Regions from separate parts of the Homo sapiens genome. Here region 2 is linked to region 1. Evidence: promoter capture Hi-C in human tissues and cell types (Jung and others, 2019). All regions are on one chromosome and are shown on one strand. Each heading gives the region's core, a stretch centred on a gene start or on the middle of the fragment in contact. The rest is flanking DNA. Distances are from core to core; before and after follow the strand shown. Region 1 holds the start of PRPF39 (pre-mRNA processing factor 39). Region 2 has its middle 4.6 kb from the start of DORIP1.

What was found. The method cuts DNA at HindIII sites, captures the fragments that hold promoters and counts their contacts. A contact is called where the count stands out against the background at its distance.
Region 2: a fragment that was not itself captured here is called in contact with the fragment with the promoter of PRPF39 in region 1 in 1 of the 25 tissues and cell types used here (dorsolateral prefrontal cortex).

Annotation. Positions count from the first base shown.
Region 1 is chr14:45,081,698-45,085,389 of GRCh38, forward strand. PRPF39 (pre-mRNA processing factor 39) reads left to right here and starts at 2,419. Exons shown (of 14, transcript NM_017922.4): 1 at 2,419-2,552. PRPF39-DT (PRPF39 divergent transcript) reads right to left here and starts at 2,329. Exons shown (of 2, transcript NR_184211.1): 1 at 1,775-2,329; 2 at 1,351-1,690. RefSeq lists a silencer at 2,124-2,413. The HindIII fragment of the contact is 8,045 bases long and covers 914-3,692 here.
Region 2 is chr14:44,890,611-44,894,819 of GRCh38, forward strand. No RefSeq gene overlaps it. Among named protein-coding and RNA genes, the nearest start is that of DORIP1, 4.6 kb to the right of the region's middle. The HindIII fragment of the contact is 5,271 bases long and covers 1-4,209 here.

The DNA of each region.
Region 1 (3,692 bases), core at 1,169-3,668:
TTTGGTATAATATCTTTTTTCTTCCCAAAGTTTATAATTGTGATACACAATTTTAAAAAAGTCAACTAAGGGTAAATCAATTTTTTTTTTTTTTGTCTTTTGTTTTTGTTTTGAGATGGAGTCTCACTCTGTCTCCCAGGCTGGAGTGCAGTGGCACCATCTTGGCTCACTCCAACCTCTGCCTCCCGGGTTCAATTAATTCTCCTCCCTCAGCCTCCTGAGTAGCTGGGATTACAGGCGTGCGCCACCACACCCAGCTAATTTTTGTATTTTTAGTAGAGATGGGGTTTCACCATGTTGGTCATGCTGGTCTCGAACTACTGACCTCATGATCTCCCCGCCTCGACCTCCCAAAGTGCGCTGGGATTACAGGCATGAGCCACCACGCCCTGCCGGCTAAATCAGTTTTTAAGATAATGTATGTTTCTGCCAGCGGGGATCACATTTTAGGCAAAGAGAAGAGCCCACTTAAAGGTTTCCACGCATAAAAGGGCTGTGGGAACAGTAGGTTCTGTGGAGTTACGGGGAGGCAGAAACAGTGAGAAGGCTGGCATGATTATGAAAACACCGTATTTTCCATTCTAAAAGTTTAGGATTTCTTTAAAAAAAAAAAAAAAGTGGAGGAGGAAACCAGTGGAGGTTTTTAAGCGGGGGAGTGAGAGCAATAGCACCGGCTTGAAAGGTAAAATGTAAAAACTAGATAAAGGAAAACAACGAATCCACAGTGAATGAAGTTGAAGATGCAAGTAGATTTTTATAAAATGGCTATTTGAGTGAATGACATCTCAGAGATAATCTTATTTACTGATAAAGAAATTGAGGCCACCTTAGAAAGACCAAAGAACCAGAAAAGGAGTGAAGGTCATGCCAAACAGTCCCTGCGTAACAGTGCCAGCAGCAAACTCTGGTCTGTCTTCCCAACGCACCACTCCCTTGACTATTCTTCCCACAGTAAACATTTAAAAGCTGCTGTTTAAACCTGTGAAACAAACAAACAAAAAACATGGCCACACTGTCAGAGAATCCAAAAAAGTTAGCTTGGAAAGTAGAAGAGGCAAATGGAAAGGGAAAGCTACTACTAGGTGCAGTGTGATGCAAGTAAAAGGTAGGAAAAAAGACTGAATTTGGTATTTCGAACGAAAGGTGCTGGTGAGAGGATTTATGATTAACCTGCGTTGTGACAAGAAACGTCGTCTTGTAAATAAGTATTTCCAGAGGAGACAGATTTCAGATGAGGAACTTGGAGCCCAGTAGTAATACTAATGCACCTGGAACAACAGATTACATGGTAAGTGACAGGTGAATGCGGGGGCACCAATGTAACAGAATCTTAAAGGGAGAGAGGCCAGATTTGAAAGAAAATTTTTTTTTATTAAAGTGGAGATGGTGGTACAACTGAAGAGGACTGCTAAGATTGTTAACGCACAGTCCCCCTCAATTTGTCCAGAGGATAACATATCCCTTCAGATACAAAGATTTTTTTTTTTGCTTGGCCAACTTTAGTCAGGTTTCTGAATCTTCTGCTAGGCTCTTCTGTACACTTTCTTTGTAAAATCCAGTTTAAGCAAAGAACTTTGCTAAGTCAGATTAGCAATAAACCCCCATCCTTGATAGCTGATCATCCTCAATATCTGATCAGGTTCTTCAGTCTCCACCATCCCCCAGGTGATGCCTCATTATCTTGGCCTGTCTTCAGCAAAAATCCTATTAGGTGGGTTTAGCCAAAATCCCCCTTACCCTGATGTTTCCTCTTAGTAATTATACATTCACTTACCACCGCTCCTTGGCTATAAATCTCCACTTGCCCATGCTGTATGAGGAGTTGAGCCCAATATCTCTTTCCCTACTGCAAGTCTCCATTGCAGTCAGTGGTCCCTATACCTGTTGCGATGGTCCTGAATAAAGCCCTCTTTTTGTGCTTTAACAAGTGTCACTAAATACTTTTTTCTTTAACAATAGCCCGTTCTCCAAACCCCTAACTCCAGAACTGTTTAGTTTTCAGGAAACCTGAGTGGGCCCAGGGTCTATACCATCGTGAGATTTGTGGGTTTAAGGCTGAATTTCTGCCCGTTTTTAGGTAAATGTTTTAGTGTGAAAGCTTGAACAATTGTAGGGAAAACCTTAGATTTGCCCCCAAAAATGACATTTTGCCGTTTTTGGTGGGGAGGGGTCAGGGCGCTGTGTTTAAGATCAGGCGTGTGAAAGCCCCTAAACGCCCTCCTTTCCTTTGGGAAGTCCCTATGGAGGGAAAGGCAGGTAGGCGCAGCGGTCCCCGCCCTCGCTCGCGGCGGGGCGGGGCGGGGCTGCGGGGGCGGGGCTGGGGCCGCACGGGCAGCGAGGATCCCTGGGAGGGCCAGGCCTGCGCGCTGCGAACCCACGTGACTTTTTCGCCTCCAGGGACACTGACGCATGCGCATCGTGCCCTGGACCAGGCGGCCGTGGCGCGGGTGGCGGCTGCTGTGCTGGCTGTGGGGACGGAGGCGGTGAAGTGCCATCTTCGGCTAGGTCGTCACAGGCTCCGGCTCATGGCATCAAGTGGCATCCATCATAAGGTCTGCTGGGGCGGGCTCCTTGAAATTAGCTGGGGCAGAGGGTGGTACTTGGTACTGAAAGGGGCCTGCCGGGTTTCAGGCCGCGCTCTGGCCGCGGCCTCCCTCTCCCGCCCTGTTTGAGGCCTGGCTCGGATTCAGCGCTCAGCTGTCCATTCCTTTCTCCTTCCCACCTGTTGGGTGGAGCGGTGCAAGGTATTTTTTTCTTAGACCAAACGTTTCACTTGAGGGGTGCGTTAGGTAGGGTGGAGAAGTGTGGGCCTCCTTCGCCTGGATTTAGGAAGATATTTGGGGGTAATTCTAAAGCCCTTGCTTCTCCCGGAGCTGGAACACGGCTGGGGTGGCTGGAAGTGGAAGGAGCACATTTGCAGCCGCCAGAGGATTGGGAAGATAATATACGTTCTATTACTAAGGCATGTGAGCGCCTTGTAGGGCACGTTCTGTCTTCTGACTACATAAGCAACACTTTTGCGACCCTAAGTCACAGCACCCACAGCTTTTGGCAGGATACTTTAAAACAGAAAAAACACATCATTGATCCTGGCAGGATTTTTTAAGGGATTGTGCTTAAGAATGTTTAACTTTGGTAATCAGAGACCACCACTGGTGTTTTTCTCCAAAATCACATCTTTAAGTTAATTAATACTTGAAGTTAATAAATAATACTGCTCAGTGTATTAGTAATGATGCCATAATACCATGTGAATTTATGCTGATTCAAATGTTGTTTTTTTCGTTTGATACTCATATGGCCTTCTGTTTGAGGACTTCAGATTATTTAGCAACTGATTTAATCTGTTCAGAAATAAACTTTGCTACAGCTGGAAAGCGTGAGGCTTGAGAAAGCAAGTTTTGGACAGGGACGTATGAAGCTCATGTTGAAACTTAAGTGTTTTAGGCTGTATGGGAGCTTGAATGGAGTGAAAAGAACAAGCGTCTACTGTCAGGTTTTCCTCCTCCCTCTAGATTTATAACCTCATTCTAGAGTTGCAAAAGTTGGAACTTTCCACTGTTCACTCTCTAGTAGGGATAAAGTGATGGAAAGGAGTTCTGTTAAAGAGGACTAGTACTTAGATTGTGAACTTTGAAGTAGGGGTTGAGCATAGATGGCTCATAGGTGGTATGAGACACTATTTGTGTAAA
Region 2 (4,209 bases), core at 359-2,858, 190 kb before region 1:
TCTTCTGCTGGGAGAAAATAACAACAAGAAATAGTTTCATTTTCAGATCTAGTTCCTACATAATTCTTCTAAATTCTGTTTGAAAATTGAATATTTAGTGTAGATTTGTCTAGCCAGATGTTATGATACCTAGTTCAAAAACAAACAAAAAACAGTTGATACTTTCAAAGTTCTTCCTGGTACTCTAAGCCAGATACAGCAGTTCATTAAATACATTTTCTATTTGCTATGTTATCACATTTGCTAAACCATCTACCATGACATGACAAGGGGCTCCTTTCCTCTCGCTTCCAATAACATTTTCCTTACTTTCCTTGAAGCCCTCATTGACATCCTCCTCAATACCTGTCAGGATTCTACTAACAGTCTCCTCAAAGCTCTTTCAAGTTCTTCCTTACATCTTGTCCGAAAGGCAATGCTCATGTTTTAGGTTTTTATTACAATGGCACCCCAAATTCTGTTCTACTTATCTAATGATGTATAAATGGGCTTCAAAAAATAGTTGCTTAGAACAATAATGATTTTATTATATCTCATGATTAAGAGAATGAGAGATTTGGGCAGGTTTCAGCTGGGTGATCTTTTTTTTTTAATTATACTTTAAGTTTTAGGGTACATGTGCACAATGTGCAGGTTAGTTACATATGTATACATGTGCCATGTTGGTGTGCTGCACCCATTAACTCGTCATTTAGCATTAGGTATATCTCCTAATGCTATCCCTCCCCCCTCCCCCCACCCCACAACAGGCCCCAGAGTGTGATGTTCCCCTTCCTGTGTCCATGTGTTCTCATTCTTCAATTCCCACCTGTGAGTGAGAACATGCGGTGTTTGGTTTTTTGTCCTTGTGATAGTTTACTGAGAATGATGATTTCCAATTTCATCCATGTCCCTACAAAGGACATGAACTCATCATTTTTTATGGCTGCATAGTATTCCATGGTGTATATGTGCCACATTTTCTTAATCCAGTCTATCATTGTTGGACATTTGGGTTGGTTCCAAGTCTTTGCTATTGTGAATAGTGCCACAGTAAACATACGTGTGCATGTGTCTTTATAGCAGCATGATTTATAGTCCTTTGGGTATATACCCAGTAATGGGATGGCTGGGTCAAATGGTATTTCTAGTTCTAGATCCCTGAGGAATCGCCACACTGACTTCCACAATGGTTGAACTAGTTTACAGTCCCACCAACAGTGTAAAAGTGTTCCTATTTCTCCACATCCTCTCCAGCACCTGTTGTTTCCTGACTTTTTAATGATTGCCATTCTGACTGGTGTGAGATGGTGTCTCATTGTGGTTTTGATTTGCATTTTACTCCTTTTAGTATCAAGGGAGGTCATCAGCAGTATTTATCTGCTGAATGGGAAGTCTGGAGGATCTGGAGACCTTCACTCATATATCTGGCATTGTGGCAGGAATGACTAGAAGGCTGGGCTCAGCTTGCTCAGCTGACCAGAATATAGCCTCTCCAGGATAGGGGTCTTCTCACATCATGGTTCAGGGCTCTAAGAGCAAGTATTCAAGTGAATAAGGCAGAAATTGCATGTTCTTTTATGACCTAGCCTCAGAAGCCACGGAGTTTCATTTTTGCTGTACTCTGTAGGTCAAAGGCTACTAGTCTACCCAGATTCAAGAAGAAGGAACAAAGACCCAATGTCTCAATGGAAACAATGTAAAAGAGTGTGCAGCCATTTTTTAAAACCATCCTAGCAGACTGCACTACAGAAAACGTTAAACCAAGTTTTTTCAAAGTGAAGTGAAGTGATAGCAGAGGGAAACTTAGATATATGCAAAGGAATAAAGAGCACCAGAAATACTAAACATGTCGGCAAATAAAAAGAACACTTTTAGTGAACTAAAGTCTGATTTTTCCCTTATTTGCTTACTTTACTTTCTGTGATCTGAGGGAGAAAAAGGACCCAGCCCATGTGGCTTCACATTGGGAAAAAGTGGCACCCACTGTTTCCTAAGATTTAGAGCTAGAAGGGGCTGGAAAGAGCTGATCCTGTCCCTGAATTTTTAGAACCAAATTCCTGTATCACAGTTGAAATGATTGTCAAAAGTAAGAACATAATGTTTGTTCACTGGGGGAAAAGTCTGTTGGGGATACCCAAAGGAATACGGGAATTTGAAGATGTGAATTCTATTTTTGGAAAGCTTAATGCAACAGAGTCTGATATAATGGCAAGTGACAGCTGCTTCTGGGGCTAAGTCCCCACGACTACCCCTTTCTTCTGGAAAATATATCTAGACTAAAGTTTATGACTAAATTTAGGGCCTATGTGTTCTGATTTTTCCCCAGATAATAAGGCTATGAGATCGACTGAATTGAATTGAGTTACAGAAATTAGATTTTCATGCCCTTCCTCATTGTTATTGTTGTTTATACAGCTTACATATTTTCTAGAGCAGGAACCTTCTTAACTTCAAGATCCTCAGGGACTCAAAGTTCATGATGGGAGCTCAGCAAATGTACTAGGATAGACAGATAAATGGTATTTGTGTACATCAAACTTGATCTAACGACCACTTTACCAAGAACATGAGACCCAACAGAAAAATAAGACTTTAAACCAATTTTTTAAAGGATAAGTTTCAAAAAAATGAAATAAAATGGGGTATATTTTAAATTTTAAGACTGGTAACAAAGATAGTATGAATTATTTTTTCATTTGGCCTGGCGCAGTGGCTCATCCCTGTAGTCCCAACACTTTGGGAGGACGAGTTGGGTAGATCGCTTGAGTCCAGGAGTTCAACACCAGCCTGGGCAATGGAGTGAATCCCCTTCTCTACAAAAAATATACAAAAAAAATTAGCCGGGCATGGTAGCATACACCTGTAGTCCCAGCTACTTGGAAGGCTGAGGTGGGAGGAGCCCTTGAGCCTGGGAGGATGAGGCTGCAGTGTGGTAGGCAACAGAGTGAGACTCTGTTTCAAAAAATAAATTAATAATAATAATAAACACTTTAAAATTATTTCTTAAATTCCCATATAGCAGTAAAAATGTACAGCAAGCACAGCACAAATGACAGGAGTAAAATAGATGTAACTTTATGCAACTGCAGAATCACTTGTTTTGTCAACCAGCATGGAAACTGTCAGAACTGTCAATCAACAAAGCAAGGGCGATAGAAAATGTGTCACTTTCAAACGGTATACAATAATAGAAATAATGACAACACATCATTATATCAGAGGGAGGAGAAAAGTGATATCAGGATATTTCTTTCTCAAGGCCTCTCATTGAGGGGTAATTATGGGCTGGTTGTGTCTGTCACATAGCCTCTCCAAACAGGCTCTGTAACTTTAAGTTCAGATATCAATGTCTTCCTCTCATCTTTTCAGATATTTTTACATCCCAGGATAATTACTGGATTATCTGTTGTGGTGGAGTCTGGACCTTTTTAAACATCTACCAACAAAGTTTATAGATTTAAAGCAAAAATTCAGCTTTTGGAAAAATGAGATTAAAAATAGTTTACTAGTAATGTAACTGAGCATTATAATTTGAATTCTAAAGAGGACTTATTGAGACTAGTAGAAGGCCGGGAGCAGTGGCTCACACCTGTAATCCCAGCACTTTGGGAGGCTGAGGCGGGTGAATCACCTGAGGTCAGGAATTCAAGACCAGCCTGGCCAACACAGTGAAACCCCGTCTCTACTTAAAATACAAAAATTAGCTGGGCACAGTGGCAGGTGCCTGTAATCCCAGCTACTCGGGAGGCTGAGGCAGGAGAATGGCGTGAACCTGGGAGGCGGAGCTTGCAGTGAGCCGAGATAGCGCCACTGCAGTCCGGCCTGGGCGAAAGAGCGAGAGTCTGTCTCAAAAAAAAAACAAAACAAAACAAAAAAAAACCCCAAAAATGTCCTATTTAAATTAACAATATTGGTCTCCAGTCTTTGCAACCAAAGAACACTTACTGATATCTCCACTGCTAGCATACTGTGTGACATATGGTTGATGATTGATAATAAATAAATAAAGTGTTTATAAAATGGTATTGGGCAACTAATTTTTTTGTTTTTGTTTTTTTGTTTAGATGGAGACTCGCTCTGTCGCCCAGGCTGGAGTGCAGTGGTGTGATCTCGGCTCACTGCAAGCTCCGCCCCCCTGGTTCACGCCATTCTCCTGCCTCAGCCTCCCAAGTAGCTGGGACTACAGGTACCCGCCACCATGCCCGGCTAATTTTTTATATTTTTAGT